2 separate regions of the Homo sapiens genome follow, and region 2 is linked to region 1. Evidence: promoter capture Hi-C in human tissues and cell types (Jung and others, 2019). All regions are on one chromosome and are shown on one strand. The core of a region is centred on a gene start or on the middle of the fragment in contact, and the rest is flanking DNA. Distances in the headings are between cores, read along the strand shown.

What was found. The method cuts DNA at HindIII sites, captures the fragments that hold promoters and counts their contacts. A contact is called where the count stands out against the background at its distance.
Region 2: a fragment that was not itself captured here is called in contact with the fragment with the promoter of ANXA3 in region 1 in 1 of the 25 tissues and cell types used here (neural progenitor cells).

Annotation. Positions count from the first base shown.
Region 1 is chr4:78,548,115-78,553,019 of GRCh38, reverse strand. ANXA3 (annexin A3) reads right to left here and starts at 1,250. Exons shown (of 13, transcript NM_005139.3): 1 at 1,161-1,250. RefSeq lists enhancers at 1-830, 134-885. The HindIII fragment of the contact is 13,286 bases long and covers 1,137-4,905 here.
Region 2 is chr4:78,859,812-78,864,582 of GRCh38, reverse strand. BMP2K (BMP2 inducible kinase) reads right to left here. Exons shown (of 16, transcript NM_198892.2): 9 at 3,115-3,194. Among named protein-coding and RNA genes, the nearest start is that of PAQR3, 77 kb to the left of the region's middle. RefSeq lists an enhancer at 1,834-2,128. The HindIII fragment of the contact is 4,055 bases long and covers 330-4,384 here.

The DNA of each region.
Region 1 (4,905 bases), core at 1-2,500:
AGAATTACTCCACAGCGAAGGCCAAATGACTTAAACAGAATTTCAATATATCCTTTCCTGAAAGGGATTACATCATTTCCTTTTACTTCCTCCTCTACGGTTATTTCTAAACAGGTTTCTCTACACAACCACAGAGTTCTGGGAACAAGATTCTGGTTTTCTTTACATTTAAAAATTCCCTTTCTGGTCAGTCTGAAGTTTTCCGTCTTCGTGAAAACCAAAGGTGGTATCTTCATGGAGTAACGTTTTAATTAGTTACATTTTAAAAAATGATGTTGGTGAACATAGTAAATGTATCTTTCCCGGAGGGCAGGGTCTTGCTGTCAGTGCTGAACACAAATCCTTGGAAAGAATTCGGCCTGGGCTATGCAATTTCGTATCAGTAGCCAGAGGGGCCTCCAGCGACCCAGAACCTCCCAGCACCTGCATACTTTCCTATATATGGTCATCTGCAATCAAGTATCCAAATCTTCCACCTGGTGACTCAAATACCAAGGGAATGATTCATATCTAGTCAATAGGATTCTGTTGCAAAGAAAACGGTTAGTCTTTTCAGGAAAAAGCAAACTTCTTGAACTTCCAACCCTCAATATGCAAATCCACTGTTTTCTACCTTCTAAAAAAAATAAGTAAAATAAAATAAATTGCCTATGTGAGGGGGAGAAGATGCTCACAGGATGGGTGCGATTCCAAGTCCACAGAGCAGACCTCTGAGCCAGCCCCGTCTGCCATGCCGGGGACCCGAGGAACCTTCCGACTCCCAGCTTTTTTCTGTCCCCTAGACCTTTAGGACTGGGGAGGCCGAGATGGCTAAGTGGATCCCTTACGCTGCTAGCTGTAATAAGCGAAGCTTTCAGGGAGCGAGGACAGCTGAGTATCAGCTTGGGCCCCACCAAGACCTGGGTGACCCACCCATGGCACGGCACTTTCCCCCCCGTGGGCCCAGTCTCCTCGACTCTGAAATGCAGGACTGAGGTCCCTCCAGCTCCCCACCCACGCAGCTGGGTTGGGGCCGGGCGCGGGCGCCAGCCGCCAGCCCTGCCCAGGGTCGAGCTGCACTCGCGGGGGAACTGGGCGAGGCGCCGCGACCTCCCCAAGCCACCCGTCAGCAGGCGGCTGTGGGCGAGGCTCGCGGGGACGCGCCGGGAGGCTGAACTTACCCAAAGCGCGGTGGGGGAAACTGGTGTGCGAGTAAACTGCGAACAAACTGCGAGCGAAGGTGTCAGCCGCGGGCGCAGGTGCTCCGCGCTGGCTCCGGGTCCGGATCGCGACCGCACCCCTTCCTCCTGCCCCTCCTCCGGCCTCTCGACTCCACCTGATTGCGGCCCCAGGCCCCGGGAAAGGGAAGCCGCGCCCTGCTGCCGCCGGGCTCTATCCCTGTACACAGGCGCCCCAGCTCTGCTCCCTCACCGGTCTCTAAGCTTCCCCACCCTTTTCTCCCTACGCCCTCATTTCGCTCTCGGTTTCCACTACACCTTTACTTTCTCAAATGTACTGCAATGCTTATTTTGTTCTAGGCAGTGTGGATTCGGAGATTAGACTGTCCCTATACCTAAGGAACTCACTGCGTGGCATAGGTGGCGGACACCTAACATTAATAACATTGATCTGGCATTTACTTTGTACCAGGCACTGTTCTAACTTCTTTAAGAATATGCGCGGATTTATTAGGTTGGTGCAAAAGTAATTGCGGTTTTTGCCATTAAAATGGCTCCGACAACAACTCTATGAGGTAGATACTATTATCCCCATTTTATAGATGAGGAAATTGAGATACAGAGACGTTGGGTAACTTCAGCCAATTTACACAGAAGGTAAATGCCAGAGCTAGTGTTTGGAACCCAACTATTTCAGTAATTCCTCTACTAAACGTGTTGACCCTCTGGTATGAGGATTCCAACCAAAGGCTCAGGGAGACGGTAACCTGGAAGGGCATTCTAGGCATTTGGAAGAGCAAAACAAATCATCGAGGCTAAAAGGTTAAAGCCCTACTCGTATGAGGGAATTATGAGCAGTTGTGTGCTGAAGGATGTAGAAAAAGTTACCATGTATTGAGTATCAGGCATTGAAGTGCTTGAATACCTTACCTCTTTTATCTTCAAGGGAACTCTAGGAGGTGCTATTTTTATCACAATTTGCAGAAGAGAAAACTGAGGCTTAGAAAAGTGAAGTGATTTATCCGAGACCACGTAAGTAAAAAGTATTGCTTGCACTCAGTCATCACTGGGCCCCTTATGTATTCACCCGAAGGATTTGAAAACTTACCTCCACAAACACCTGCACATGGATGTTTATAGTAGCTTTACTCCTAAGTATCAAAAGTCGGAAGCAACCAAGATGTAATTCGTAGGTGAATGGATAAATAAACTGTGATACATCTATACAATAGAATTTTATTCAGCACTGAAAAGAAATTAGCTATCAAGCTATAAAAACACATGGAAGAAACTTAAATGCATATTATTAAGAGAAAGAAGCCCATTTGAAAATGCTACACACTATGATTCCAACTATATGACATTCCAGAAAAGGCAACACTACGGAGACAGTAAAAAAAATCACTGGTTTCTAGGAGTTGAGAGGAGGTAGGGTGAACAGGTGGAGCACAGAGGATTTTTAGAGGATAAGCATGGCTGGAGCTGCTTGAGTGTGAGTTGAAGAGATTACAGTCTTGGTCCTTAAGGCTGAGTCCTGGGACCTAGAAACTCATTAGAAATGCAAATTCCCTGAAACCCTGCGCCATCAAGTGATTCTGATGCATCCTAAAGTTTGAGAACCACTGGTTTAAGAGGAGCTACAACGGAGAAGGCAGAAGTGGTCATGCTTAAAAGGCCAGTGCCCTGGGAGCCCTCTCAGATCTACAAATCCGAAGTGATGGGCTTTCTGCAAGAGAGAAGATAGGATGGTGTTCTGCATTCTGTTCTGCATAGTAATTCCTGACTCCCATTCAGACTTCACCACAATAAACTGTTAAATCCCATGTTACCTCAAAAAATTCTGAGATTAGCATGAAATGGGGGAAAATATTTATTATTATTTGTGCCAGACACTGGGTAATGCACTTGACGTACGTGATCTATGTCATGCTTACCAACTAGCTGTAAATTAGGTATGATTGCCTCTATTTTGCAGATACAGACACAGGCTCAGAGGGACTCAGTAAGTTCTACGAGTTGTATTCCAGGCAACTAGGAAGTCATAGGGCTAGATTTATAGCCAGAAGAAAATGAGTAACAGGTGATGTTTTACATGTAGGCTTTATTTTAATTGTTTAAACCATTCAGGATTTAACTTCTTTGATTTCCTGATGGTAACTTTAACAAATGCACTTTTATCATTTTTTGAGTTTTTCTAGTTGTATCAACAGCCCAATTACCACCATTTATATTAGAAACATGCTATGGCATATTATAAAACTATTTTTTCCCCAAAGGATGAGTTTTCTTGGAAGGAAATATTAGAGGATGCTGTTAGAATCCAGGTTTATGGTTATCCAGAAAAAGAATTCAGAAAAGGTTATTTAATAAAAGTTTCATTATTCTGAATACACAGAACTTTACAGGTTAGTAAAAAGGGAATTTTCCTATAGCATCCTGATCAAAAGAACAATTTAACAGCCAAATACAAATTTTTAAAGCAAAGTTATTGAGATATATTTAGAACATATGGTAAAATGTGAAGGAAAGACCGACTACGTGATTGTGGCTGTTGAATACATAGCTGCTGTTACAGTGATGTGTTGGAGCTGGGTTATACCAGCATGTGAAAGCCAGTTCCTGAATTTTCAGTTATTTCACAGCCAGTATTAATGTAGACATTATTACAAGTTAAATAAATACAATTGAATAAATTACGTTAAAAGCAAAGGTAATAGGTACTCAAAATTAACCACTTCCTAATTATTTCACATTTTATTATTATTTTTTTTATTATTTATTTATTTATTTATTTATTTATTTATTTATTTTTTAATTGATCATTCTTGGGTGTTTCTCGCAGAGGGGGATTTGGCAGGGTCACAGGACAATAGTGGAGGGAAGGTCAGCAGATAAACAAGTGAACAAAGGTCTCTGGTTTTCCTAGGCAGAGGACCCTGCGGCCTTCCGCAGTGTTTGTGTCCCTGGGTACTTGAGATTAGGGAGTGGTGATGACTCTTAAGGAGCATGCTGCCTTCAAGCCTCTGTTTAACAAAGCACATCTTGCACCGCCCTTAATCCATTCAAACCTGAGTGGACACAGCACATGTTTCAGAGAGCACAGGGTTGGGGGTAAGGTCACAGATCAACAGGATCCCAAGACAGAAGAATTTTTCTTAGTACAGAACAAAATGAAAAGTCTCCCATGTCTACTTCTTTCCACACAGACACGGCAACCATCCGATTTCTCAATCCTTTCCCCACCTTTCCCCCCTTTCTATTCCACAAAACCGCCATTGTCATCATGGCCCGTTCTCAATGAGCTGTTGGGTACACCTCCCAGACAGGGTGGTGGCTGGGCAGAGGGGCTCCTCACTTCCCAGTAAGGGCAGCCGGGCAGAGGCGCCCCTCACCTCCCTGACGGGGCGGCTGGCCGGGCAGGGGGCTGACCCCCCCACCTCCCTCCCAGATGGGGCGGCTGGCCGGGCAGAGGGGCTCCTCACTTCCCAGTAGGGGCGGCCGGGCAGAGGCACCCCTCACCTCCCGGACGGGGCGGCTGGCCGGGCGGGGGGCTGACCCCCCACCTCCCTCCCAGACAAGGCGGCTGGCCGGGTGGGGGGCTAACCCCCACCTCCCTCCGGGACGGGGTGGCTGGCCTGGTGGGGGCTGACCCCCCACCTCCCTCCCGGACGGGGTGGCTGCCGGGCGGAGACGCTCCTCACTTCCCAGACGGGGTGGCTGCCGGGCAGAGGGGGTCCTCACTTCTCAG
Region 2 (4,771 bases), core at 1,108-3,607, 310 kb before region 1:
TCCAAGAGGTACCAAAAAAAAAAACGTGACACTGAATCAAAAGATCTTAGAATTATATGTATGCCGTTTTCTGAAAGTAACACTTAAGCTCTAGATGGGATGGGGATGGTAAAAGACATGAAAATTTAACTAATAGGCCAAATATATACAGATATTACATATATATATACACCGATATATATATCGGTGTATATATATATGTAATCAATTATATCTTGTTTTAATGATAATCAAGTATTTACTGACATTAAATTATTGATGTGGCATTACAATCAATGCTATACTCCCTAAGCTCAAGTAATTTGGGGGAAATATTGTACACAATCTCTCTCTTTAACTATCCATTCTGTATTAAACGGCTAGTACAGGCCAGACCTGATGTTGCCTTGTTGCTGGTCTAAACCCTCTTTACAGATTCACAACACACGTAGGCATAGCAAAAGCCCTAAGAAGCATATTAAAAGTCTGTATACTTTGTTCACTCTGATGTCTCTGTTTTATCAATACAGTAATATGTATTGTACATTTACTGATATCCAGCAAAACACTGCATAACACCCTGTCTTCAAAGAATTTACAGCATACCTAGGAAGACAGGGCATATGTTAGTGGAAATGTAATAAATATAAGATAGTAAAAATCATCAGTGCCAAGCTAGTGCTGTCAAGAATTTATGGAGATGTAATTGTACTTTTAACCTAATTTGGCTACAGAAGGCTTCAGGTAGAAACTGGGGTTTAAAATTTTCATAATAAGTTTGACTTTATTAGGCAGTGACAAAGAAACCAGGCATTCTATGTGAAGGAATGGGAAGAAAATGCCTGGGCAGATTAGGCATAGGGAAGATACAAAATCGACTGAAGTTAAAAACAGTAATTATTGCATCGATACTGCTGTACAGTCTCATTTTCACTATTACAACAGTCACAGAGCTGTTTTTCTGCTTCCCTTCTTTTCTCCTTGCCATCACCTGAACAAAATCATCACAGGTTTCCTAGAACTCAGACTCACACTCTCCTGCTTAAAATCCTTCAATGTTTCCATCTGCCAGGCCAGTGATTCTCAGTGTCTCAATCTTTAAGACATGTGTCAGATAAATTTCACATCTTAAACCATACTAAGAGCAGATGCAAAGTTTGGGGAGATGAGAGCGACCTTTTAAGAAGGCAAAGAATACCACAGATTGAAGGCAGCTGAGAAACCCACAGGCGCTTTTTGAAAACGTGGGTAATGAAACTGCTAGTAAATGATTTCTCCTCCCAAAATGTGCTCTTTACATGGAAAAAACTAAATTTTTTAATATTAAGCTTTGTATACATTTAGATTTTTTCAAGTTTTCACTAATATTCATAAAGAGTAAATTTATATTAGTAACCAATAAGTACCAATCAACCTTATTTTTTAATATACATAATGTTCAGATTTAACATACTATAAATAAGCACTGTGAATTTTAATAGCACTATTTCATTGTCTTGTAACTCTAAAGCTATAACTTGCATTAGGGTGAAAAAATAATCAAATCATCATTCTTGTTCAGCTGACTTACGCTTTTTTTAAAAATCTGCACCTACTTTCTCAAAGATTTAATTATTTACTAATTATTTTAAAAAACAGAAGTCACAATAAAATTCAACTGACAAATCCTACAATAATTCATAATTAACACTCAACTATAACAGTGGATGCTAATTAAAGCTATGTCATAGATAAGACCAATTGCTGTTCAACCTGGATTCCTGCAAGTTAGATATAACTTTACACCTTCACCTCTTCTCAAAAGAACATTTTGAAATTCAAGTGAATGAAGATATTTTTAAAGTAACACCATTTTTTAAAATAAGTCATTCGCAAATGAAATTTTAACAATGTATAAGTAACAGATCATTTACAACACAGTCACAACCAAGTCTCAAAGAGTAGAACTGACTAGAAGGTTGAAAATTAACTGACCTATAGGCCAAAGTCCAAATTTCTCAGCATGATATATAAACAAAGTTGTTCATGATTGGCATTTATCTACCTCTCCAGCTTCATTTCCCACTACTCCTGTATATGTCCCCTTTTGTCCTAGTCCTGTAGTTTCACAATAGTCATTCTTGCCTAAACTGCCTGCCTGCTATAATTTCACTCCACACCCTTCCAAGTGATTGACTATTCATCATTCAAGGAAGAGTGCAGCAACTCCCATCCGCAGGGAAAGCATCCTTTATGTGCTCCTGTTTTCTCTGTTCCCAGTCTTTCCCCTCCTCCACACTCTCAAAGTAGCCTAATATCTATCAGGTTGTAATCGTTTACTTGTCAATTAGAACGTGAACTCCTTGGAAATAAAAACTGCTTTTTTTTTCTTTGTGTTTAAATTGTCTACATCTTGCATATAAAAAGCATATGAACAAATATATTTTTGTATTGTGTAAACAAATAAACTTTGCATAAATAGCATACAATACAAAATTGCTGTGACCAAGAAATCTCCCCAAATGTAGTATTATACCTGTCTGATAATCTAAGATATAATCCTGCTTATTAACTTTTAAATTCAAAAAAGTGTGAGGGGGGGAAAAATCAATCATTAACAGATTCAGTCTTAACTTACATAATATAGTTCAAACTTATTATTAATATAATAAATACTCTGAAAAATAAGATTGAAAACATATACCAGCCTTAAAAAGTATTATAATCACTCATTACAAATTCTACAAAGTACATACATATTCTATATATTCTAGTTACCTGTAGGAGCTATTTTTTTCTTTCCTTAAATTAAAAAAATAAACATCTATAAACTCAAAACATAGTATTTCCTAAACTAGAGTTGCTATGTGATGAAAATGACAAATCCTGTCCAAAAAAAAGACCCGCTGTCACATCATCAGTTAAATAATCACTTGTCATAGAGTGAACAGTTCCAGTGAGATGATGCCAGACTCCTTATCTAATATTTTTAAAAGCTTATTTTGTATTTGCTATCTCAATTATACCACATACAATAAGCAACACAACATTCTTTGTGGATGAAGATGATATTTAATCAATTACACTTGCTAGGATTAAAAACAAGACCTATCATTTTTTTTAATGCCTTTTCAATTTCAGCATAGTTTTGCCTACCTGGCTTTTATTTGGCTTTTCCTAGCAGCTGCTTCACTAGCAGTCATCGGTTCAGGAAGAGCTGAAGGAATAGAAGAATTCTTGGAAGAAAAAAAATAAAACGTCTCATTTTAGTTTTTTATTTTAATTGCAGAAAGTTTTTGTAAGCTATGGATATATCATTGAACTTTAAAAGTACTATGAGACACTATTACTTTCACATCAGATACCTATAAATTATTCACATGTATTTGCCAGATCTAATCTGCAAATATCACTACATGTTACACAAATGTCAATTTCATATTCATGTGCCACAGAAACCTTGGAAAATAAGCAGAAGAACACCACTGTATCCATTTATAATTGGGTAAATCTTGAGTAAAAAGAAAGATTATATTACACTCGTAAATCAATAACTATTTTACATTTTGGAAAAAGCAACAAACACCAAGGATAAGAATTAAGTGTTGTTTCTACATACTACAGATAATTTTCAAGACACAGAATGTAAGGCCTGGAAAATGAGGGCAGAAGGCCTTGTTTATTTGTCTATACCCAATGTTTAGTTCTTTGTAGGTACTCAATAAATACTTGCTGAGTAAATGTCGAATGAGTCTACTTATCTACTTTTAGAACTGCAAAGCTTTCAGCTTCAACAGAGAAAAGAGTACATCAATATGGCGAGGGCTTCACAAAAAAAAAAAAAAAAAAAAAAAGGAAAGGTACCACATTCCTTCTTTTTTCTTAGTGGGGTAGATTAAGTTACACATAAAGGAAACCCTACAGAAACAGGTCAGGCCAGAATGATCTTTACAAAGTCAAGAATGGCTTATAATCAGTGATGATTGCAGAACCTTTATTAAGATTGGCAGAGACTTGCCATACACCATTCACCTAAAGTAGTTAAATGCACTGTACAGTCAGTGAATAAAATTGAAAGCTTTTGAATAATACTAACTATTGCCAACTGAGCACCTTCCATGGACTAGGCACTGGGTTTCACATGTAATCCTTATAATTACTATCCTTGTTTTACAGAAAAAGAAATGGACATTAAAGTAACTTACCAAAAGATTCAAAGTCAGTCACTGATAAGGACAAAACTGAATCTGGGTCTATTTACATTGCCTGTGCTTTTTAAAAAAAAACTTTTTTGTAGTTTTAGGGGATACAAGTGCAGCTTTGTTATAAGGATATACTGCATAATGGTGAAGTCTGGGCTTTTAGTATGACCATCACCCAAATAGTGTATATTGTACCCATTAGGTAACTTCTCATCCTTCATCCGCTTCCCACCTTTCTGACTTCCAATGTCTATTACTCCACTGTCTATATCTATGCGTACACATTGTTTAGTTCCCACTTAACAAGGCCTGTGCTCTTTATACCAAAGTTTCCCAAACTTACTCAGTTAACAGTGCTCCGTGTCTCAGTAATTGTTTACAACACTTCTAAGAAAAAAAAAAAAAAACTAACAGTCCTGTTTATTAAACTGTTAGGCCCAAATAACTTAATAAAATTAGTTTTGTGCTAAGTCAGAAAGATGTCCCTGTGTTTTCCTCAAAAATGCAAAATATTCTGCCTGAGTCTGCTGCAGCTCCCCAAGGTATCTCAGTGCATAGTTTGGGTACTGAAGCTTTATACCACAAATATCAAACACACAATCAGATCACTT